5 separate regions of the Homo sapiens genome follow, and regions 1, 2, 3 and 4 are each linked to region 5. Evidence: promoter capture Hi-C in 16 types of primary human blood cells and fetal thymus (Javierre and others, 2016). All regions are on one chromosome and are shown on one strand. The core of a region is centred on a gene start or on the middle of the fragment in contact, and the rest is flanking DNA. Distances in the headings are between cores, read along the strand shown.

Region 1 (5,321 bases), core at 1,218-3,717, 1.2 Mb before region 5:
GAGTGCAGCGGTGCAATCCTGGCTCACTGCAATCTCCGCCTACCAGGTTCAGCGATTCTCCTGCCTCAGCTTCCCGAGTAGCTGTGATTACAGGAGAGTGCCATCATGCCCAGCTAATTTTTGTATTTTTAGTAGAAACAGGGTTTCTCCATGTTGATCAGGCTGGTCTTGAACTCCTGACATGAGGTGATCTGCCACCTCGGCCTCCCAAAGTGCTGGGATTACAGGCATGAGCCACCGTGCCTGGTCAATATTTGAATTTCTTTTAGTGATTGATAGCGTTTTCTTTTTAAAAGATGTAAGTAAGTATACAGAGAAATGCACCTGATTTATTTTTGTCTTTGTTTTCATTTGACAAATACCCATGTAGGGCTTACTATGATGAGGATAAATCATTGGAGGAGACAAAGGGAGGTAAGTAACTTGACAAAGTTGGCAAAATTGGAACAGGAGCCCAGGAACTCTTAGTCCAAAGTCTATATTCTAGATTACTAACTTTAATGCCTTGTTGACAAGTACACCAGCTATTATCTGTCTAAATGAGTATTTTCCCCCTTCAAAATTGAAGTATTTCTGGGAATATCCCCAGTGGGGGCAAATTTATTATGAACATAGAAGCGAAGTGTTACTGAAGCTATCTTTTATTTACATTTGAAAGAATACTTCTACCATTCAGAGAGATTTTCAAGTACTTAAACACAAGACATCCCAAATACCAATAAAAATACAATTTAAAACATTATGAATATTCAAAAATATCAGTCTTCATGTTGCTAATTGCTGAAGTGCACACTCATTTCTTTTACAGTTCGGATTTCATAATTACCTACTTCTTTACTTGTGTATTGGCTGTTTCTCCCCATAAGCTTATGTTTGCATACCAGTGCCTAGTCTAAGGCTTGGCATAGAGGAAGTGTTCAAGAAACATTTTGAATAAATTAAGGGGGAAATAATGTGAGGGAATGGGGAATGGCTTCATAAGATGAACCAGATCTGGAAGGAAAGGAATAACATTTGTTGAATGCTTACTATGGGACAGGCACTGTTCTAAGTGCTTTACATGTCTATCTGTATTATATGATATGACATAGTATAGCTTGTTTATTATCTCAGTAGGATGTAATTTCTAGATGACAGAGAATTTGTATTATTCACTATAAATCTTCCAGGGCGTATATCAGGGGCTGACACATAGTAGGTTAATCTGTAAATATTTATTGAATAAATACACAAAAATCACCTCTTTTAATCCCCATAACAACTTTAAAAGGCAGGTACTTTTAATATCCTCATTTTTCTGATGAGGAAGCTGAGGCCCCGAGGTAATAAGATTTTCAAAGACACAGGGCTGGAAAGATTCAAACCCAGTCAGTCTGATTCTAGACTTCATTCTTGTTATGGATTGAACTGTGTCCCCTGAAAAGATATTTTGAAGTTCTAATCCCTGGTACCTGTGGACGTAAAACTAATATAATCTTTTTTTTTTTTTTTTGAGACAGAGCCTTGCTCTGTTGCTTAGGCTGGAGTACAGTGGCACAATCGTGGCTCACTGTAGGCTTGACCTCCTGGGCTCAAGCAATTCTTCTGCTTCAGCCTCCTGAATAGCTGGGACTATAGGTGCATGCCACCGCACCGGGATAATTTTTTTTTTTTTCAAGTTTTTTGTAGAGACAGGGTCTCACTTTGTTGCCCAGGCTGGTCTTGAACTCCTGGCTTCAAGTGATCCTCCTGCCTTGACCTCCCCGAATGCTGAGATTACAGGTGTGAGCCACAATGCCTGGCCTGAAACTAATAAAATGCTCTTAAAAGAATGTGGTATAGTGTTTACCCAGAGTAAATAAGAAATAATTCCAAAAGAGGAACTGAGAAACATTTCAAATAATGGCAGCTGGCCAGATGCTGTGGCTCACGCCTGTAATCCCAGCACTTTGGGAGGCTGAGGCGGGCAGATCACTTGAGGTCAGAAATTTGAGATCAGCCTTGCCAACATGGTGAAACCCTGTCTCTACTAAAAATACAAAAATTAGCCAGATGTGTGGTGCATTCCTGTAACCCCAGCTACTAGGGAGGCTGAGGCAGGGGAATCACTTGAACCTAGGAGGCGGAGGTCGCAGTGAGCCAAGATTACGCCACTGCACTCCAGCCTGGGCAACAGCGTGAGACTCTGTTGGGGGGAAAATAATGGCAGCAATGTTGAGAGTATGTGCAAAATTTCTCCAGCAGTTTGCTGTCTTGAAGTACAATAGTTATGTGGACATCTGAATTTCAGAAGGTTTATTTAAATGCAGTTTTACTAATTTAGAATTTTATTCCATATGCCATGTTATCAACTGGGATGTGAACTTTTAACAAAATGGTTTGAGGAATGAAACAACTGGGTTGACTATCTGAGAAGAAGGAAAAGAATCAGTGCTTTGTAAAGAAAATCAGTATGTTGCATGCATTTACGGTTATAAATAGCTATATATGTGAAACTAATAAGGTAGTATAACTTGAGTTACTCTGCGATTCATGTAACAACATCTGTATGAACATTACAATAACACAGGTATGTATATTTGATCTTTATTTATTTAAAACATTTAATTAAGGGCCCAAATGCATTGGATTAGACTTGTGCTCTCTAATTCGATGGTCACTGGCATGTTACTAAGCATTTGAAATGTGGCCAGTGCAAATGAGATACTCAGTTTAAATTGTATTTGATTTTAATTTAAATATAAAACAGATACTCAATTTAGTCATTGGAAAACTTTAAGGTATATTTGCAACAAGTTAGGTATGAGAGTCTACTATTGCAAATGTAAGTTTTATAAAATTGAAATACAGATCAAATTTCTGATAAAAATTTGGTGTCTAAATTGAGATGTGTTATAAAATGCACACTAGATTTTGAAGACATAGTAGTAGTGTGCTTTTTGTGTGAAGAAATACAGAATCATTTAGTTAATATTATAAATCCTCACCTAGATATGTATTTTTTCTATTAATCTTTTTTATCTCATGAAAGTAAAATATTAGAATTGCTGTATGTACTAAGAGTTATTTCCTGAATTTTCTATACTTGCAATCTCAACTGACATTACATCAGAGTATCTATTACAATCATATTTTATGTTGTAAAAGCTCTTTGTGTGCTAAACTATAACTTGGGAAAGAAAAATCTGATTTTGACTGATGGCATTCTCACCTGTGTATAACAGAAATCTATGTTTTAGTCTCTTAATTTGTGAATGATACCCATTCTTAACATTACCAATTGCTTTCAGAGTGACAGTGCAACCACAGTTTGTTACAAGGCAAATTAAAGCAGTTTTTTTCTCTGCATCTGTTTTCCTACGTTTTTGGAAATAAAACCTAACCTTATGAGATTATTATTTAAAAAAGACTGAAAATTTTGATATTCTAGCTAACATTTATGTAGAAAAATAGGTTCTTTCTAGTATTCTTGGAACTACATATGAATGTACTAAATGGCTTCTTCAGCTAGGCCTTATCCTGTTTCATTCAAGATGACGGCGGTTATTTTAATAATTAAAATAAACATACAGATGAAAGATGTGAACTTTACCTACTACTGGCAGGATATTGTAATCCCCTTGTAATGTTGCCTTTGAGGGAGAGGCCATATACTCTTTGTGGGTTACTCCCTGTACTTATAACACTTTTCCTATCTGTAGATATTAAATCTCAGAAACAGGAACAGGTAGGTAGTATATCTAAATTCATGTAATAAGTACTTTATTATAATAAGGGTCTGTTGTACTAACATTTTTGTTTCTTCTTAAGCAGCTTGAATTGGCTCCCATGCCAGCTGTTAAACTGTTTCCTCTCACATAAAACACCCTAACTGTAATGTGTCTCAGTTAATTCAGGAGAGTGAGTTGTGTAAAGTACACCTTTTTCTTAGATGTTGTAGGATTGAGTATTTATGGAGTATAGAATTAACAATGAAAGGTGTCATTTAACTTCAAGGATTTTTTTCAAAAAGAACTTTGTGATGCCTAGAAAATATTCTCTATAAAAACAACGAATTCTAGATAATTCAGGCGAGGTCAAAGAAGCTTCTAAATGTAAATACGGACAAAATACAATTACTGTAAGAAATCTTTCTGATAAGGCAAAGTTAACATAACTAGAAATGAAAACACTGTGATTGGATGTGTGTCTAGTATATGGAGATATAAAATCAGCAAATAATCTCAAACACTATCCTTTGTAATATCAGTATGCAGAGACAAATGGGACAGAAACTAGCAATCCTATTTAACTGAAAAGGAAACTGGGGCACAGAAGGCTTTAGTGTCTGTTGCTATTAATTTATTTTTATCAGACAGGCACTCCTTTTGGCTATGATCTGACTATTCCTCCAGTCCATGAACCTCCAAGCATAAATATCAATAAAACAATAAAAAAATGGCCCGGCGCGGTGGCTCACACCTATAATCCCAGCACTTTGGAAGGCGGAGGCGGGCGGATCACCTGAGGTTGGGAGGAAGGCCTGAAAGACTGCTTACTCATCATTATTCAGAGAGAGCAGTGGTTCTTGAACATCAGGTTTCTAGAACTCCCAGAGAAATAATATACAAGATAAACAGGACTGTTCATTGGGCCTTTGCACCCTAACACCTTGACTCTTATCTTATTGACATTCAAATACAATTCCGGTGGAAAATCTGTAGAAACTGACAGGTGTGGCGCCTGAGCTCTCCTCTCTGGGCTTCCTCCCAGTTCCCTTGGGCCTCGGCATTCTGGGTCAAGGTTGGTTCCCTCCGGCCTCAGGGCCCCGGGCATGGCCGGCATCCTGGATGGCACGGCGAAGGTTGTGGATCTGTAGAAAGAGGGCTTCCAAGACGCTAACAAGACAGGAGAGACGAGTCTGATTCTCCTCAGCCTGTCGAGGTGTTCTGTCAACAGTTCTGGGGACCCCTCACGAGTCCTTCCGTCCTGTAATCCCCCTAGGTGTCTGAGCGACCGCCGGCTCTGCCTGAACCGCTCAGGTTCGCACCTTCTGGCATCTTCTCGCACTTTCTCCAGCCTTCCCGGGCAGGGGGATCCTGGCCTGACGCTCCCCGCTCCCTGCCCCCGCCCTGGGTCTCTGGGGTCAGCAGAGCCACCCAGTGCACTGCGTTTAGGCATGCCCACATGGAGAGAGGCGACCACAGCGGTGATCATAAGCCCATGGTGGGCAGAGGCCCTATGGAGCCAAGGGCTCCGGCCGCCACCCCCGCTCCGCCACCAGCAGCGCTGCCAGGACTCGCTCTTCCTCCTCCTCCTCACACGCCGGCTCGGATGATCTCCTGCCATGACTCAGCGCTTCT
Region 2 (5,261 bases), core at 1,491-3,990, 1.3 Mb before region 5:
GTTCTACAGGACCACATGATTGCTGATCTCTCCTCTTAGGAAATTCCAGTTTGTCTTTCACAAACATAAAGTAAAACAGAATGCAACTAATTTATTATATGCAACTATTGATTGTCTTAGGTAACTTTTGCAATTAACAATACCAATTACAATGATCAGCACATTATATTTGGTCAACATTTGCTCTCTACAGGGCAGTCCACTATGATTAGACAACTAAGGTATTTTATTTTGCATCCTGAACTTTTTTCATTATACCAGACTTACTGTGCCTATCTCACAGCACTGTATGTATGCATAAATTGGGTGCAGCTATTCGACAACTTTCAAACTTTCAATAACACACATTAGTCTTCAAAATACTCAGATATTTTTACCCTGAAGAATGACCAAAATATTGCGGTAACATTTTTTCCTCAATTTTTGAGGCTAGAATTTCATTTGAGCCTAAAAACAAGTCAATTCCATTGACCACTGATGTTTCTCTTATTTTAAACAAGACTTTAATAAAATGTCAAGCCATTTTCATGAAAACTTTTCTATCATGTAATGCCTTTCAAAACTCATACTGATCATGATTTTATATTGATTGCTCAGTCATCATTATAAACATAACATATATTGCTATGATTTCACAGGCTAATACGGCTCACAAAGCTACTTGCCCAAACTCAGTAGCTCCAAACTACTAAAATTTTATAGTACCTATATACCTGGGTTTTTTTATAGTTTAATGTTTTTTCTACATCCTCCTTCTCTGTCAGCTATCACTTCTTGAGACTGTTGGACTTGCCTCAGTAGCAGCCTTCTCATTATAGTTCCAGAAATCAGATAACCCAACTTGTTAAGATTATTTCTAGAGTAAAAGTAATTTTGTGGCATCTATGTCGGTTATTCAGAAGACACTGTTTAACTTAATTTTTTTGTTACATTTTAGATACTTGAAGTCATCAGAAAAGGAAGTTCTAGATAAGTGAGATATTGTGTGGTATATTACAAATTACTAATGAAATTAAATGCAAAATATAATATAGAAAAGTAAGGAAAATGAGTGTTAATTAGGCTGAGCAAAAGCCCAGAGGATCTTTCCAAACTCATCTGTGTTCGGTTGTGTGAACAGTGTTCAAAGTATTCCTCTTATCTATACTGCGTGTGAAAGTGTACACACACTTAAGTATAATATGAGCATGCACAGAGGATTTCAATAACATAAACACAAGTTCATATTAGTTGAATATTAGTAAACATTTACAAATACAAAGTGAAATATGATCATGCAGTCTCAGTTTGGTAAACTGTAAACCCAGTTGGTAAAATCACACAGGGAGGCAATAATGGATCCTATGATTGATTGCAATGTGGATCAAAGTAGATATTCTAAGTAAGTGGGCAACTTGTCCTCTGTGCTTGAGAAAAGTGAATGGATGTTAAGGTGTTACTGGAAATTTTTAAATACTACTAAGGCAAAAAGATTTTGGTGACAGGTTTTGAGGCAGAGGTTGTCTGATTAAATATTTACATGGCAGAGGAGAGGATAAGGTGTAGCTACAGAAGCTTGGCACTTGTCTGTTTGAAGGCAGTTTCTATCGTAAACATACATGAGTCAACAGAGAATGTGTCAAATATCTAATTCCTTAAGTCGCACGCTATAGTGTATTCCAATACTAAAATTCTCATTACAAGAAAATATTCCCATTATTTAAATATTTCGCTATATTTTTAATATGATACACAATTAAGACAATACCTATAGCATTTTGGAGCTTCAGCATATAGCATAGAGTAAGTAATGCCCTGAAAGAGTAAGCCTCAATGAATACTTGGTGATAAGTTTAAGCATGTATCCATCGTTGCCTCTGTGCCAGGTACGAGTACTTGAAATAATGATGATGAAAGTTAGGAAAAAGAGATTGGCTGTCCTGAGCTGCCGTTCATACCCCTTTGCCTAGTTTCTCTAGTGACACATGCTTGTGAATTCCCTGGGTCTGGCCCAAGGTGCAACTTGTAGGTTTAGAAGTTTAGTGCAACTTGTAGGTTTACATACGTGTTATGAACTGTGTGTCTGTGTCCCACACCCACCCCTAAAAATGTCACATGCTGAATCTCTAACCCCCAGTTGTGATGGTATTTGGAAATGGGGCCTTTGGGAGGTAATTGAGGTTAAATGAGGTAATAAGGATGGGGCCCTCATGATGGGATTAGTGTCTTTATAAGATGAAAAAACAGAGAGAGTCTGCTCTCCCTTTCTCTGTCATCCTGCTTGTGCACAAAGAAGAGGTCACAGGAGCATACAATGAGACGGCAGCCAATTCAAGACAAGAGAAGAGGTCTCAAAATGAAACCTACCTTGACTTTGGACTTCCTAGCCTCCAGCGTTGTGAGAATTAAATGTCTTTTGTTTCAGCCACCCAGTGTGTGGGGTTTTGTTATGGCAACACCACCACCTTACCTGTGGGTAAGCAAACTAGCCCATATTGGGATCAGAAGTCATTTTGCCCACCATGTTCTAGACAGTTAGCTAACTGGATCAAAACATCAGCTTTTAAATACAGAGAGGAAGAAGCAAGGAATTTCCCTCCCTAGATTTTATAAGTAGAAAAGAAAACCATCTGAGGATGGTTTTTCCGCTTAGTTGAATAGTGAATCAATAAAAACATGTGGGCGGGCACAGTGATTCTCACCTGTCATCCCAGCACTTTGGGAGACCGAAGCAGAAGGATCACTTGAGCCCAGGAGTTAGAGACCAACTTGGGCAACAAAGTAAGACCACATCTCTACAAAAAAAAACTTTAAAAATTAGCCTGGCATGATGGCACATGTCTGTAGTCCCAGCTACTTGGGAGGCTGAGGCAGGAGGATCTTTTGAGCCCAGGAGGAAGGCTTCAGGGAGCCACGATCACTCCACTGTGCTCTAGCCTGGGCAACAGAGCAAGATTTTATTGAAATTTTATTTTAATAAAAATTAAAACTTGTGAATCTGCCTATAGGTCGATGCTATTTGACGAGGACATGATTTCATCACTGATTAGACCAAATCTCCTAAATATCTCTGAACCTAATGATTTGGCCATTGAAGAAAGAGCAATGACCTAGTTGCAAAAATCAGTTTATTAAAAAGGCTCTTCTGTTAATTAAGTAAAGATGTTTTTGCTGATCATTTTTAGTAAAAGTAGTTTTATTGAAGTACTTTTAAAGCCTGGCAGGTACTTTTAAAAATCAGTAGCCAAAAAAGTATCTGTTATTGGGAAACCACCCTAAAGAATAATGATGCTAATTCTAGGTTATTTATAGCTATAGAGCCACATTCTTGTACTATCCAGTGCTTGGTCAAATTGCCTTATCCCAATATTCTTAATTAATAATCACAGTTTATGTTTGATGCGAATAAATACCTGAGTTACTAACACAAGGACAAAAACTTATGAGTAATTAAAATGGTCAACATTGGAATAAAATGCAAGACATACATAATATAATTTTTACACTATGTAGCAAACTGAATAACTTATGGTAAGTTATATTTCTGAATTTATTTTAATAACTAAACAATAAGGGGTGAAAATTTTTCTTATCACTGGACAACCATTTGCAGAGAATGTGATGGAAGGGGATTAAAACTTAAAGTATAGGGTTAAACTGATGATCTTTTATAGTCTCTTCTTATCCTGAGATTCTTTCTATGAAATAAGAATTTAAAAGAATTATTCTATCTACAAGTAAGAAGGGGTAAGAATGTGTCCAGAACTCTGATCTTGGTTATTGCTATTGTCTGAATGTTCACACCCCTCCAAAGTTTGTATGTTGAAACCTAACCCCAAAGGTGACAGTATTAAGAGGCAGAGCATGTGGGAGGTGATTAGGTTGTGAGGGCTCCTGCCTCATAACTGGGATTAATTCTCTTATAAAAGGGGCTTGCATAAGCTTGGGTGCCCATCCACTACATGAGGACACAACAAGAAGGTGCCATCTATGAGGAATGGACCTTCATCAGACACTAAATCTACTGATGCCTCCTTCTTGGACTATCCAGCCTTCAGAACTGTGAACAATAAATTTCTATCATTTAAGAGTTCCCAGTCTAAGATATTTTGTTATAGCAGCCTAAATGGACTAAGACAATCAAACATTATCTAAATCTTTTTCAAAATAAACAATGGATTAATTAAGAAGCATATCAAAAAGGAAAAAATTGTTAAGTTGCTTCTACCCACATGCATTTCGTTTGAACAAGAAAAAAATAAAATAAAATATGTTATTTAGATAAAGAGGGAATGCCACAATTTTAAATTTCAGTTGTTTTGAAAATGGTTATTTGAAATCCACCATTGGTAAGATTCCAGACAATAAGTCAGTACAGTCCTTTGCACACAGTAAACATGTATGCATGTAAGTATGTTTGTTTAGCTAAGTGAGTTCAATCTAGTTCTCAATTTCAAATCTGATAAACATAAGAGAAAAAGTATATGAAGCAAAACTTTCTGGTTAATGCAATACATTTTAGCGTTCCTAAATAGGTCATGTAAGATTCAGGATTCACTTGGAAAAGAAAAGTGCATGACAGAATTAAAACAAAACAAAACAAAACAAAACAAAAAACCTCTAGCCAGGCATGCTAATGCATGCATGCCTGTTATCCCAGCTACTTGTAAGGTTGAGGTGGGAGGATCTATTGAGCTCAGGAGTTCAAGGCTACAGTGAGCTGTAATTGTGCCACTGCACTCCAACCTGGGTGACAGAGCAAGACTGTTTCTAAAAAGAAAAAGAGAAAAAGTCTCTGCAAATTAAACAAGCTCAATTTTATATTTTTGAAAAGTATATTGGACAATGATTTTAAGAATTATATATATAATGAATATATACTCAGAATTTAACCTTAAGTACCAAACTATTTTATTCAGCACCCAAAGGTATTCTAAACTTACTCAAATGCTAGGAGTTATATTCAAAGACTCAAAGACGAAGATTCTGTGTAAGTGTCTGTGTGTTTGCAAGTGTGTAAGTATGCAAAATTGACCTTGGAACATTTTTGTTTCTGTGATCACATAGATGTTTTCCCCCCAAAAAATTGAGCAAAATGTTTGAGTCAATAGCCCTATACCACTGGAAACAATAATAAAATACTACTTAGTGAAATGTGCTTGGAATTAAATCAAATCATTAAAAAAAATAAAATGATAGTTAATACTTGCTAAAATCCTGTATACAAAACACATATGGCTGGGCATGGTGGCTCAAATTTGTAATCTCAACACTTTAATGCC
Region 3 (4,760 bases), core at 759-3,258, 1.2 Mb before region 5:
GTTGAGCCATCTATGATTTGCCTGGTAGTCTGAAACTAGTTCTGAAGCATTGTTCTACCCACCACCTTTTGTTTTTTTAAAATCTGAGCTAGCCTTAGTATGTGGATTCCTTAATACGGTGAGTGATAAACATGCGGGTTGGCTATTGCTAAACTCACAACATTTTTATGAAATGGAATAACTAGTCAGGAAAGGTACTGGGGCTTCCCATACTTAGGATAATGTTTGAAACTTCTTACCTGGTTAACTAGGACTTGCCCACTCAGGTTCGTACCTTTCTTTCTAGTGCTCATCTTTTATCATTTCTCACAGTTGGTGCAGTTTCCTTCCCTACGCTTTCCCTGAGAAGCCAAGCTTTTCTGCATTAGGGGTTATATACATGCTGTTTCTTCTCTACCTACCCCCAACTTTTCACCTGGTCAACTGCTACTCTTTCTAGTCATCCTTCAGATTGCATTTTGACATTACTCCTCAGTGAACTATTTCTCTAACTGTCTAAATTAAGTTCTTCCTTTTCTTTTCCCTGTACTTATCACAATTGTTATAGTTATTTGTGTAGCTTTTCATATAATATCCTGTTAAGCTCTTTATATTGTAAGCCTAATGAGACTATGGATCATACCTGACAAGCCACTGTTTCGTTGGGGTAGTTCCTGTATGCATTGTAAGCATTCACTCAATGATATCTGTGAGTGTGATGATTAATTTTATCTGTCAACTTGCTTAAGCCACAGGGTGCACAGACATTTGTTCAAACATTACTCTTGTAACTCTTGTAGTGTCAGTGAGAGTGTTTCTGGATAAGATGAACATTTGAACTGAGTAAAGCAGATTGCCCTCCCTAATGTGGGTGGGCCTCATCCAATCAGTTAAAGGACGAAAAAGCTGAGTAAGAGGGAACTTCTCCTGCCTGACTGTCCTGAAGCTGGGACATCAAATTTTTCCTGCCCTTGGACTCAAACTAAAATGTGGGCTCTTCCTGGGTCTTGAACCTCCTGGCTTTCAGACTGGATCTACACCATTACCATTGGCTCTCTTGGGTCTCTAGCTTGCTGGCAGCAGGTCTTTGGACTTGTCAGCCTCCATAATCATGTGAGCCAATTATACTATTTCTCTCATAATAAATCTCTTCATATATATAAAGGTTCAGTTTCTTAGGAAAACTGACCAATACAGCGAGCTTCACAACCGCCCATAAAGTAACTGTAAAAGCAGAGAGAAAACATTTCTGCAAATCTCCACAGTGGATCTGAAGCAAGAAAGCCATCTTGTGGTGTTTCTGGGAATATCATGTCTGAGGTATATATCCCTTAAGAAACTGAAACAGTCCTCTGCAACAGTTTTCAACATATTTTGTGCCAAAGGCACAAAAGTTGGAAAGTTGATGAAGTCTGTGGTCTCCTTAAATCAATGATTTTAAATAAACAGTATACATAATATTACAAAGGAAACCACTTGTAATTAAATATAGGTATCAAAATATTAACAAATATATTTACAAGTGTGTATTGTAAGATATATTCCTCTTTATTGAAGACTCATATAGCAAGATAATATATTTAAATATGGGCAATTTAAAGTAAAGTTTTATTTTTTAAAGAGATCAATATCAAGGTTGTCTGCATGACTGGCCTGTGTGCCTGTTCATGTTATTAAAAAAAGTTGGGCCTGGCGTTGTAGCTCATGCCTGTAATCCCAGTACTTTGGGAGGCCAAGGCGGGTGGATCACAAGGTCAAGAGATCGAGACCATCCTGGCCAACATGGTGAAACCCCGTCTCTACTAAAAATACAAAAATTAGCTGTGCATGGTGGCACGCGCCTGTAGTCCCACCTGCTTAGGAGGCTGAGGCAGGAGAATGGCTTGAACCTGGGTGGCGGAGGTTGCAATGATCCGAGATCACGCCACTTCACTCTAGCCTGGGCGACAAAGTGAGACTCCGTCTCAAAACAACAACAACAACAACAACAACAAAAAACAACAAAAAAAACATGTTAGTTAGGCACAGTGGCTCCTGTAATCCCAGCACTTTGGGAGGCCAAGGGAGGAAGACTGCTTGAGGACAAAGGACAGGAATTTGAGATCAATCAGGGCAACATAGTGAGACCCTGTCTCAAAAAAAAATTTTTTTTCCAGATGTGGTGGTGTATGCGTATAGTTCCAGCTACTCAAGAAGCTAAGGCAAGAGGATTGCTTGAGCCCAGGAATTCGAGGCTGCAGTGAGCTATGATTATACTACCGCACTCTATCCTGGGCAACAGACTGTCTCTAAACAAAGCAAAACAAAGCAAAACAAAACCTTATTGCAGATCTAAAGCTACAGTAATTTCAAAGTAATGAAGAACATGAATGTTATTTCCAGATACATGCCACAGATGTAACATGGCATAAAAATAATTGTTATTTCTATTATGACAAAGACACAGAAACTACTTTTTTTTTTTTTTTTTTAGACAAATCTCACTCTGTCACCCAGCCTGGAGTGCAGTGGCATGATCTTGACTCACTGCAGCTTTGACTTCCCGGGCCAAAGACATCCTACCACCTCTGCCTCCCAAGTAGCTGGGACTACAGGTGCATGCCACCACACCCAGCTAATTTTTTTCTACTTTTTTTTTGTAGAGATGGGGATCTCACTATGTTGCCCAGGCTGGTCTCGCACTCCTGAGCTCAAGCGATCCTCCTGCCTTGGCCTCCCAAACTGCTGGGATTAGAGGCGTGAGTCACTGTGCCTGGCCAGGAACTACTATTATGTCTCTTGTTTATTTCATTTAAAATGGAAGGAAATACTAAATCTCATAGAGTTTGTGAAAAAGATGTCCAAGTTCAGGCCTCCTTAATTACTCATCCATACCTTGAGGATCTGTGATTAGGTCTGTGAATTTTAAGTTAAAAGCCTCTGATAGGGGGCTAAATTGGTTCTTCACCAGAAGCACTGACCTTGGTCTCTGAAAACTGATTCTTAAACTCAGAGGCTTTCAGACAATACTGAAATGTGAAGAATAAAAGTCAATATTCATGTAGCATGTGCATATTAGTGACTTTATTTTAAAACTTTGTACCATAAGCATTTATATAACACTTTATAATTTACGTAGGATGCAAAAACACCTGGTCTCATTTTTTTCTTCCCAACAACCCAGTGAAACACACATAACATGTACTATGTGTTCAGTAAATAGTTGATTAGTCTTATTTAGCAGATGCAATAATTGAGGCAAATCTCCATTTAACCCTTAACACCTTAAATATTTGCTCAAAATCAAGTGTTAAATAATATCTACTTGTGACTCAAACTTGACAAATGGTATACCCTTTAGTCTTATGTTGCTATTCAGTCATATTTGTTGGTGAAGTGTGCATCTAAATTTCTAGTGTATGGCTTATTACAATCTATTAAATACCAAAAATGTACTGAATAGCTGCCTACAACAAATAATTGTCTGTCCTAAAATGTCACTAGTACCAAGATTGAGAAACCTGGTCAAGATGAAAGTACTTTAAAAAATCCCCATAAACTCTGGCACTTATGCTGATATGTAGATATATATTTTGGTCAAACCAAAGTTGATCTTGAATGCCTGGTTTAAAGTCAATGAAAAAACTTGTTAATAGTGGATTAGTTTAATTAAATGATTTCCTAAGGTATATGTGGAAAGCTTAATTATTATTTGGGAGATTTTTAAATCATGAGCACTCTTTGTACTATTGCATAAATAAATCTTTGTTTGAAATTTGAATTCGGTGATTTGGTTATTCAAAATAGAACTACACAGAACCGAACTACAGAGTACTGAAAATTTGTTTCACATTAATGTATTTATACATCCATTTGCTTATTTAAAATTTATTAAGGCCCTGCTCCATCCCGACATTGTACTAGGTGCTGTCATACAAATATGAATAGTATAGTGCCTGTCTTCCAGACCTGGGTAAAATGGCAGGTAAGCAGAAACAATGAACTATGGGACATTCTATGATAGAATTATCCCTTGAAGGAGATCATTATTCAGGAATAGGCAAAGGACACAGGAAGAAACAGACATTTGCAACTTCGTGTGTAAATTAATTGGTAATTAAATGTGTTGGAATTGCTGTCTAATGTTCATAGTCTGCAGATTCTTCTATTAGCTTGAAGAGTTAAGAAATCAAGACACAATAGAGGATTATTTTATAATTCTGATCTTTCTGGTTCATTATATGAGTAATCACTATACACACTATCATAGGCATAGAGGATTTTGTCACATATATAAGATTTTAAAAAATAGTATAAAGGTACGTATGATAACTAGGAAGTCTATTGGCAACCAGTGGTTTATTTGGATTATTCATACACGTTTCAATTGAAGATCTTAAATTTTGATTTTTCATCATTTGTGTCCATTGCTAGTTTCAGGTATTTACTGAGAAGTCTCAATCTGCTTATTTAACAGATACTTTTCTCTATTGGTTTAGTGACAGTGAAATTTGCCTTACAACTTGTTATGATAAAATAGTGCTCCATCTTGCTGAAAAGCTTTTGAAATTTTTCAAATGATTTCAATGATTTCAAGAGATATATTTGGGAAAATTTAGTGTTGACATTGTTGGCTAACAATTTTTCAGCCTTACAAAGAATCTATAACGATCAGTAATAAGACTTTTAAGTGAGAAATACTTAAACCTCTCATCCAATGTTTTAAAAACCCATTTGCTCTCTTAGGTAGAGGTGTTCTTTCTTTTTTTAAAAAAAAATTTAAGCAAACATGTCATTTAAAT
Region 4 (5,178 bases), core at 1,126-3,625, 1.3 Mb before region 5:
CAACAAATTCTAGTGGGTGACAGGTCTGGGGCAAGATGAACTGATACAACGAGAGAATACATAAACAAAAACAAAAACAAAAACAAAAAAACTCGGTCCTGGCCCTAAAGCAGGGAGATCGAGTAAGTGCACAAGTACTTACAACACAAGGTCTTAGCATGTCTTGTAACACTTGGTTCGTTAGTAGGTTATTGCGTATCTCAAGTTCTGTGTACTTTTAATGAGATTATAACATACTTAGCATTGTCCCTCGTTATACTCAACGGACTAGTTCCAGGCCCTCTTCCCCTCCGCCCCCCCATACTAAAATCATCCCATATTCAAGTCCAAGTCCAGCTGTGGGCCCTGGGGAACCCGCGTATAGGAAAAGTCTGCCCTCTGTTTAAGCATTTCTGCCTGAAAATACTGTTTTCTATCCGCTTTTGGGTGAAAAAAAAAATCTGTGTATAAGTGGACCTGTGCAGTTCAAATATGTGTCCAAGGGCCAACTATATATACAATTTCATTGCTGTTTTCTCATTTAGCATTGTTAACATAAGCATTTACCCATATATTAAAATCTATTGGTAATTTTTACCAGTTAGAATTAGTTCTGAAGCTCTCTGTCACCAATTAGATCATAATAGTCATATGCATCTTTGAATCACCACCATCTACCACAGGGCCTGGCATATAGTAGCTGCTGCATTAGACGTGGAACTAAAAAGTTTGCTAGTCAGATGGAGTGTGGAGAAGTCACAGAGAAAGTCCAGAACTCAGAATGGGAATTCCGCCTGACACTAAATAGCTGTGTGCCCTGGGCCTCCGCTTTTTCATCTGTAAATTGAGATGGTTGAGCTGGAGGAGTTCCAAGGCCTGCAGCTCTCAAACATTTTTGGGATTCTAACACTGTATAAATCCAGAAGGATTCACTGTGGACCCAGGTCTGCTTCCTTCACTTTATTCAGCATTCTCCACTAGCATCACAGAAAGCAAACTTCCAGGGCTCTTTCATTTTCATGCCCCCCTTCTTGAGCCTTTGACCCCAAGCCCTTTTGTACCCTATTTCTGGATCTATTCCAGGTTGTCTTATCATTAATTTGACTGTTTTCAAAATTTATCGCTTTACTTCATCTGGTCCTGATGCTTCGTATTTACTATTTCTCTAGTTCTAGGTTTCTGGCTTCTTATTTTTAAAAAATTTTAATTCATTAAATTTTTAGAGACAGGGTTTTTAAATTATCACTCTGTCACCCAGGCTGGAGTGCAGTGGCAGGATCATAGCTGACTGCAGCTTCAAATTCTGGGCTCAAGCAATCCTCCCACCTCCACCTCCCAGGTACACAGGCACATGCCATCTCACCCAGCTTTTTAAATAATTTCTTTTGTGGAAGCAGGGTCTTGCTATGGTGCCTAGGCTGGTCTTGATGTCCTGGCCTCAAGTGATCCTCCTGCCTCAGCCTCTCAAAGTGCTGTGATTACAGAAGTGAGCCGCCGTGACTGGCCAGAATTCTGGCTTCTCTTAAGCAGGATTTCCTCTCCTGGCCTAGTCCAGCCCCTCAGGTATTCTATAGCAAAGTATGAGCAGTTCAGAAACCATACCAAACTAGATTGTCAACCCATCAAATTCCTCATTCTGGACTTGTAATGATGGTCCTATAATTTTCCAATGCTTCTCAACCAGCTTTCCACATGGGAATGCAAACTTTGGATAATATAACTCTTACCATTTTAGGAAATAATGCATTATAGGAAATGTTATCAGTTAAAAAAAATAAACTCATAACAAAGTTTCCAGCCATGTCTCCCCAAGGTCCTAGACTTTATCTTCAATTATTGTGACTATTGTGACCAAAGACTTTATCAAATTACTTTTAATACAACCCAAATTCTTGGTTAATGCACCAACAAAACTGATAACTATCTGTCCTTTGTGAGGTCCCCAGCTTAATGGAGGCATTTGTATGCTTCTCCAGAAATGGAACCAAGAGGCCCAGAACACATCTTCTGTCACATTTCAGGTCACGAGGGGTGCAGTGGCCTCTCTAGAAGAGAAGCCATGACCACTGTCAGGCCTGGCTATGATTAAGGCTATACTACTTAGCTTTTTTTTCTGGACTTGCTTTCCCAAGAGGCTGAGACCAGAATAGAATAAATCTCTATCCAAGACTAAATCTTACTTATCATGGAAATGTACTTGGAAAGTTTTAGCTGTGGAAAGACAGGAAGAGGAGATGTTTCATGGTCCATGGTGAAGGTCTAACTGATGACTCAACCTTGTAAAGGGACCTGAATTGCTTTGGCTGTAATCTTCCTGTTAACTTTTAATCCCAAGGTTTTATCAAAACCCTCTTTATTATTTATTAGGTTGTATGGTTGTGCCTGTTTAAAAACCTAGGGGTCCCTTAGTTAAGGCAGACTGAGAAAATTAAGCAGATGTAATAAGAAAAAAAGATAAGGTAGCATTTGTCCTCAAAGTAGATATACTGTGATAGAAGCCACCTATGATCTGCTAATTTGAGGAACAGTTGCTGGTGCTCCACAAACCTGCAAAACCATTGGCTTTCTCTATCTTTCTGGGTGGCCCAAGGAAATGCAATGATGTGTTCCCCCAAAAATCTGAAAGTTGGGTCCCTCAGTGCAGCCCCTCCTCCATTGGGTCATGTTCTTTCTGATAGGCAGTGTTGATCTCTCTACTGCCTTTGCGCCAGCACTGGTCCTGGGTACTTGCCACACTGTTTCGGAATTATTTTTTTCCATGTCTGCCTCCCAAATAGGACAGCCTCAAGGACAGCAAAACTTTTATATATCCAGCACTAAGTACAGTACCTGCAACTTAGATGTTTAACAAATGTTAACTGAGAAAATCAAATGGACCAGAATCAAGACATTCTACCACTCTCATCTGTAGTTTAGACACAATAGAGTGAATTATGAGAGGAAACCAGAGTTCTTACAGAAACCAGAGACTTAACCTAGAAGCATCATAAATAAGTATAAATTAAAAATCTGAAGAGGACACGAACTCCGGGAAATGCAGCCAGGACTAAAGCACTGGGCCCCAACCACAAAGTCTCCCAGAGACAGGATTTCATGAGACATTGCCAGAGGAGAGAGACTCTTGTAAAGTTTAATTCATAGGCCTGTAAATTAAGGCTAATGGATCAGAGTCATTCATATTCCAAGTTTGAAAATTTATGATAGCTTTTTGTTTTATTTTTTATTATTACATGTTTTCTTGGCTCTGGAAATGATGATTAAATTACTAGATGACATGAATAAGCCTTCAATAAAGAGCTTTATCAAAGTCAAAATATCCTGGGCAAACTACCTATTTAATCACATACCCAGTCAAGAAGAATGAAGGCTATTCCTCCTCCTTCTACATGGCCTCTGAATATGGAACTGAACCCACTATGGATAAGAACAGTGTACTCAATGGAAATATATCTGGGATTAGGAAACTAAGGTTTAAACCTGAACACTGCCGCTTATTAGCCATGTGATTTGGGCCAAGCCACTTAACCTCTGGGAGTCCCTATTCCCTCATTTGAAAAGTTAGCATGATAAAAGTTGTCTGGAAGAGTGGTTATGAAGGGCAAATGTAAGAATGTATGTGGACACCCTTAGCTGTGACCGGGCACATAAGTGCTCAATAAGGAGAGCCAGGAATTGGCCCCAGGAGCAGAGTCTAGTACGTGACATATGACTGGTTTTTGTGCTTCCACGTGACTCCGAGGAAAGGCAAGAGACCACAGTACCTCTAATGTCAGCTTCTCTCTGTTATACTCTCCCTTCCCTTTTTTTTTTTCTTTTTTGACATGGAATCTTGCTCTATCACCCAGGCTGGAGTGCAGTGGTGTAGTCTTGGCTCACTGCAACCTCTGCCTCCCAGGCTCAAGCGATTCTCCCGCCCTGCCTCAGCCTCCCGAGTAGCTGGGACTACAGGTGTATGCCACCATGCCCAGCTTATTTTTGTATTTTTAGTAGAGATGGGGTTTCACCATATTGGCTAGGCTGGTCTCGAACTCCTGACCTCAAGTGATCTGCCTGCCTCGGCCTCCCAAAGTGCTGGGATTACAGGTGTGAGCCACTGCGCCCAGCTCCTTCTCTTTCTTATAATGCCCCAAGACTCTCACTAGATCCAGAGACGAAGTATCCATTAAATCAAATACACTTCATCACATTTAGGTAACCTCCTAGAGGATGAATAAACAGGACAGGATCATCAATGAAGAGATGATAGATGTGGAGAACAATGAGAGATGGGAATAACTCACAGGCTGAGTCACATTTTATCCTGAAGGACAAACATTTCAGATTGCAGATGTTTTGGTGTGGCCAGAAAATTTGAAGATTTTCATTAAAAATTTGATTTCTAGGTTTCTGTGTGTGTGAGAGAGAGAAATTAGACCATCGGGCAAGTCTGGTCCACATTCCCTCATGGCAGTAGTCAGCTGAAGCTAAGTAGGAGCTAACAGTTTAGATGGAACAGGCCCGCTTGAGGTCGGCAGGTGTCACCACTCGTTGTTGCCTCCATATGCTGTCAGTATTGGTTTCCATTTGCCATCTCCAATGCATGATTGTTTCTTTTACTCCTAGCCAACTGCACAAACTACATGTGTGGGGGCTACCAGAAAATATAAGGATCATTTGCATATCAAAAAGGGAATCCTGGAAGCAGAAGGAATTGTTGGGAGAGAGAGAGAAATTTTTTAAACTTAGAGTGGAAAGAACAGCTAAGACACTGTTACAGTAGTTCAAGCTAGATATTATGAAGCTTCAAACCAGGCAGTAGCCATGGAGGTGGAGATGGGGAGAGAGCAGATTCCAAAGATGTCACAGGATTCAAATTGAGTGAGCTGGTGACTGAACATAAGGAGTGAGGGAAAGGGAGGATTTCAGGGCTCAAAATAAATCAAGGCTATGTACAGGGATACTTATTGCAATCATTTTTGTGTAATAGCAGAAAAGAAGAAATAAAGTGAATGCTCATAAAAGGAAAATAGTTGAATACACTATGGTATATCCGTACTCTGGGATATTATGTTGCTATTATCAAGAATAAATCAGGACCAAACCAGCTGCATTGTAGGCATTTCCTTAGTGTAGTTAAGTGAAATGCACTGAGGAACATATATAAGATGGCCCCATTCATAGAAAAGCAACAACCAAAGAACTTACATATGTATCTATATG
Region 5 (4,954 bases), core at 1-2,500:
GTCTCGATCTCCTGACCTCGTGATCCGCCCGCCTCGGCCTCCCACATTGCTGGGATTACAGGCGTGAGCCACCGCGCCCGGCCAACTTAAGCTTATTTTCAAAACCACTCAATTTTGACATTACAAACTGGTTTTTGTTTTGTAGAAGGACATTAAGAATAAAGAGCAAAGAAACAATTATGTGCTGGGAAGGGCAGTAGGAGGGCTGGGTCCTAGTCTCCCTTTCTCTTTCGCTAAGCAGCTGTGTGGCTTTGGGCTAGTAACCTACCCTCCCACAAAAAAGGCTTCAAAAGAGAGCAAGCAGAGCTCAGTGGGCATTAAGACATGCGCAACTCCTTTCTTTTAGAGATTAGATGAGGTCGACTCAGTGGCTTGTAAAACTCAACGTGGCAGAGCTGTACAGCCAACTCATGATTCTTAGTGTCGTTTGTTTTGAGTCACACTACACCTCCTTGAACAATCATTTACTGAGTGCTTACCGTATTAGGCATTCAGCAGCAGTGTGTTTCCCATTCAGTAACCTAGTATTGATTATTGGCTACTGTCCCTCCTAGCATTTTTCACTTGACCACTTTCTAAATGGCCTTTAGATTCAGAGTTCAAGTGGAAAAAGCCTAGTGTAAGCCTGGTGTCAGGCAGTGAGTGGCGTGACCCGGGTCGGCAGCTAGTCCTACGGTGGTGATCTAAGAGGGCAGTGACGCCTTCTGACCAAGGGAGTGACTGCCAGATAATCCGGGTGTATGGAGATCCAGAGAGGGGTGAGGCTGGGTTTACGGAGACTACACCTTTGGCTTTGCAGTAACCCCACTGCTAAGGCCATGGGAGGAAACTCTTCTGTGCAGGACGCCTATGCACTTGGCTTCTGCTGCGTAGCGACCGGGTGTCCAAGGCATCCTGCCAGGTCTCCTTCTCCACTCGGGTTTAGCCTCCCCCGCGAGTCTCCAGCTACCTAGAGAGACGTTTCTAACTACGAGATGGCTGGCCTGAAAGGGACACTCCCATCACCGTTGTTGGCCTAGAGTTCCCCGCTGCGGCCTTTTTCTTTTCCCCGCCCCTGGCCTGAGTCAGCGGCCCCAAGGCCGGCGAGGTCAAGTTCCTTTGGGGCGCCAGGGAAAAGGCCATGGCAGAGGTGCTGCCACGCGAAACCTTCTGGGCAGGCACCAGCCAATCATCAAGAGACATACAGGAGCCCCAGCCAACCAGCGCCCGCCTTATTACTGGGAACCGCCCGCTCGGGCCCTTCCTCTACATCCCCGTTCCCGATTCCTGTAGTAGCGGCTGTATTGCAGCCGCCTGCCGAACTGACCCGGGTCTGGGGACTGGCCCCTCTGGCGCCGTTCGGTTTCTCTTATTGCCTTCACTGAGGATGAGTCCCTTTGTGGCTCTATGTGGACCCTGCGGAATCCACCGGCGCAGTTTCATCTAGCGACTGGTGAGGGAGGGCTTGGCGCTGCCCGACCGTGCGGTGCGGCTTCCCTTCAGCCCGGGGGCAGGGGGAGAGTATTCGCCTTCTGGAGGGTGCGGGTGGCTGCGGACGGCGGCGCGGGGGGACCGTGGGGAGGGGACTCTGTGGCCCCGAGGCTGCCGGGCTTCGCGCGAGGCGGCGCGGAGAGGGCCGAGTGGCCAGGGTCCCTACCGCCCCCCTCAGCTAATGAATGGCCTGTCCCGGCGATGCGCTACGCTCCCGTCCTGCTGGACACGCCCTCCAGCGACATTGCATTCCTAGTTGTGATAGTTATGTAGTGTCACTTTCCTTCGAGTCTTGGATTTGAAGCCATTCCTGTGGGCGCTCATGTTCCTTATCCCCTTCCTGGAGTCACAAGTTTGAGTCCACCCTGGGGATACTGACTCTGGGGAAGCAGGTCGTGAAATCTGATAAGTGGACATTGATTGCTATGTAAAAAGGAACTGATTCTTTTTGGAGGGTGGAGGGTTGAGAGAGACAGAGAAGACAGGCCCTTTGTTTTTGTAACAGGCAGAGCTGTCTGGCTCAAAGAGTTTTAGTTCAGCTGCGAATTAGGTAACATAGGCCGTCCTTGACTCCTGTTTTCCAACGTAGTTCATAAAACTTGACTGTGTTAGCCAGAGATTCATGTAGCACCTTTTAACTTATGCCTCGAAGTAGGCCATTTGAAATTTATCAGAAATACTGAAAGGATATGACTTTTATGAGTAGTAGTGTTTCAGTGCCCATAAAGTGGTGTAAATTCACAGGCTTGCCAGCCCCCTCTTGATCATTTCTCTTTTTGTATTTTGAATTCCTTAACTTTTATTTGTTTTAGAAATTGAGGCAAGGTAGATGAGGACAAAACTGGTTTCTAAAAATAATTACATTTGCAAATATTTGCAGAAGCTTTAGTCAAACCAGAGTTTACTTCAAGAAATTTTTTAGGCCGGGCGCGGTGGCTCACGCCTGTAATCCCAGCTACTGGGGAGGCTGAGAATTGCTTGAACCCGGGAGGTGGAGGTTGCAGTGAGCCGAGATCGCGCCGCTGCACTCCATCCTGGGCGACTGAGTGTGGCACCATCTCAAAAAAAAAAAAAAAAAAAAAGATGCCTGTAATCCCAGCAGTCTGGGAGGCCAAGGTGGGCGGATCACTTGAGGTCAGGAGTTCGAGGCCAACTTGGTGAAACCCCGTCTCTACCAAAAATACAAAAAAATCAGCCAGGCATGGTGATGTGTGCCTGTAATCCCAGCTACTCGGGAGGCTGAGGCAGAATCGCTTGAGTCTCCAGCTGCCCTACCAAACTGCTTTTGAATTCAATTATTTTGAATTGAATTCCATGGTACTTTTTTCTACTACACTATACTACTTGCATTGAAATTTTTCTAACTGCCTTTTGGGAGAGCAGTTTGGTAGCATAGAATAGGTGGGATCAAGAGCACTTTTCTGTCGGTATTATTTTAGGTAGGCTTTTTAAACTTTCACATGAATCTCCTCATCAGAAAATGAAAGTGATCATATTTACAGGGGCAATAATAAGGATTATATTTATGTAGAGCACTGTGTATAATGTATAAAACAAAATTTCACCTATAATTTTTGTGTGTTTTTTCCGTTGTTTAATTTTGTTTTGCTTTACTCACTTCCAAAGTATTGACCCCTTACTCTTCTTTCTAGTTTCCCTATCTGTTCTCCAAGCCAGAAACCTGGGAATTACCACCACATCTTGTCAATTCAAGATCCTAAGTATGTCTTTGGATTGCCTGCCCTTTTTTTTTTAAATCTCTAAGAAAAGGCACATAAGGCTGTTCAAAATCCTGTCTATCCTTGTGTGTATGTTAGGCCTCACTTCTTTCTGTCTTCTGAATTATTTAGAAATTTTGGAATGGACCAAGATGATTCTAGTTCTTTTATATTTACTATCCCTTCTGCTTCAAATGTGCTCTCACCCAGAATTTATCAGGCCAACACATATGGTACTCTTTTTTTTTTTAGAAGGAGTCTCGCTCAGTCGCTCAGGCTGGAGTGCAGTTGCATGATCTTGGCTCTCTGCAGCCTTGACTGACCAGTTTTAAGTGATCCTCCCACCTCAGCCTCCAGAGTAGTTGGGACTACAGGGATGTGCCACTACGCCTAATTTTTGTATTTTTTTTTGTAGCGATGGCTTTCACCATGTTGCCCAGGCTGATTTCAAAGTCCTGGGCTCAAGTGATTTGCCTGCCTCAGCCTAACAAAGTGTTGGGACTACAGGCATGAGCCACTGTGCCTGGCCAGTACTCATCTTTTAAGTCTTAGTTTATACATAGTTTATCTCCTGTAGAAAGTCTTACCTGGACCCCTCTTCTGCACTCCCCGTTCCTATGTGTCACTTGTTTTATCTTGACCATAGGTTTATAATTATGATATGTTTTAGTTACTTGCCTAAATAAAATTACTCTCTTCTACCAAACTGTGACCCTTTGATAATAGGAACTGTGTAATAGATCATAAGTTTTGTTCAGTTAGTACATATGTTAAACTAGCTATGCATCCACCTGAGTATTATCCATGAACCTGTATTTTATTTTATCTAAAATATTTAGGTCCTAATTATTTTTGTATTCCCAATGCCTTGTGACCTACTATGGATGCGCTGAAGAAGACAGTGTAACGTAGCAGAAATAGCACGGACCTCATCATTAAACAGATCTGTATTTGAAGTCTGACTCCCTCTTTTCTTGGTGGTATGATTTAGGTGGTTTACTTGACTGGTCTGATGTAAAGCATTCCGTATGTATTAGGTCTTTAAATGCTTATTTCCTTTGCTTTCTTCCCCTTCTTTAAGCAGTTTTTGAATGCATAGATAAGAAGTACAATAGGCATTGGAAATATGGGCCTGGAGTTTAGGGCAAATATGTGAGCAAGAGACAGATTTGGGGATTTATAATCATGTGTACGGTAGAGTTAAAAGCATGAAAAGGATTGAAACTATCAGGAACAATATGAAGTAGAGGACTGAGGATTATTTCAGAGAAGCCCAGTTTGAAGGACAGGGGAAGCGATAATGCCCTAGGAAGAAGTGGTTAAGAGAGAGAGCCCATGCTTAAATGTTTCTGCGACTTCCTGCCCTTCCTGGATCTCTTTTAGACTCCTTAAGGGAATGAGGTTTTAAAGACATAAAAGCAGGGAAGGCAAGTAAGAATTGAAAATATCTAAAAGTGTTTGGTAATTTGGAAGTCATTAGTAACTTTAGCAATAATGATTTCTTTGGAGAAGTGGTAACAAGTGATAATGAAGCTCAAACATGAATTTTGGAGTTAAAATGTATTACCTTTTTATGACTGAAGAAACAATAGTAATGAAAACTATTATTTGTCGAATGCATATTTAGTGCCAGGTACCATGTTAGGTAGTTTCATTTATCATTATAGTAACCATGTGAAGTCCATGGATTGTTTCTATTTTCAGATGAAGAAACGACTTGGAGAGATTATGTCATTTTTTAGTTATATAACTGATAACAGCTGACA

Evidence for each region. Contacts are between HindIII fragments. The CHiCAGO score rates a contact against its expected background, and 5 or more counts as called.
Region 1: a contact is called between a fragment that was not itself captured here and the fragment with the promoter of IBTK in region 5, in 4 of 17 cell types (M2 macrophages, M1 macrophages, M0 macrophages and 1 more). The highest score is 13.6, in M2 macrophages.
Region 2: a contact is called between a fragment that was not itself captured here and the fragment with the promoter of IBTK in region 5, in 1 of 17 cell types (M0 macrophages). The highest score is 5.6, in M0 macrophages.
Region 3: a contact is called between a fragment that was not itself captured here and the fragment with the promoter of IBTK in region 5, in 2 of 17 cell types (M0 macrophages and M2 macrophages). The highest score is 7.4, in M0 macrophages.
Region 4: a fragment that was not itself captured here is called in contact with the fragment with the promoter of IBTK in region 5 in 7 of 17 cell types (M1 macrophages, M0 macrophages, M2 macrophages and 4 more); the score reaches 13.9 in M1 macrophages.

The regions. Positions count from the first base shown.
Region 1 is chr6:83,431,174-83,436,494 of GRCh38, reverse strand. No RefSeq gene overlaps it. Among named protein-coding and RNA genes, the nearest start is that of ME1, 2.8 kb to the right of the region's middle. RefSeq lists enhancers at 4,029-5,228, 5,171-5,321. The HindIII fragment of the contact is 3,198 bases long and covers 869-4,066 here.
Region 2 is chr6:83,526,663-83,531,923 of GRCh38, reverse strand. No RefSeq gene overlaps it. Among named protein-coding and RNA genes, the nearest start is that of PRSS35, 17 kb to the right of the region's middle. The HindIII fragment of the contact is 2,367 bases long and covers 1,557-3,923 here.
Region 3 is chr6:83,414,584-83,419,343 of GRCh38, reverse strand. The region is part of intron 1 of ME1 (malic enzyme 1); the gene reads left to right. Among named protein-coding and RNA genes, the nearest start is that of ME1, 14 kb to the left of the region's middle. The HindIII fragment of the contact is 3,304 bases long and covers 357-3,660 here.
Region 4 is chr6:83,506,637-83,511,814 of GRCh38, reverse strand. No RefSeq gene overlaps it. Among named protein-coding and RNA genes, the nearest start is that of PRSS35, 3.3 kb to the left of the region's middle. The HindIII fragment of the contact is 4,773 bases long and covers 1-4,761 here.
Region 5 is chr6:82,244,040-82,248,993 of GRCh38, reverse strand. It overlaps IBTK (inhibitor of Bruton tyrosine kinase), which reads left to right and starts at 1,250. Exons shown (of 29, transcript NM_015525.4): 1 at 1,250-1,432. RefSeq lists a silencer at 1,448-1,617. The HindIII fragment of the contact is 2,262 bases long and covers 94-2,355 here.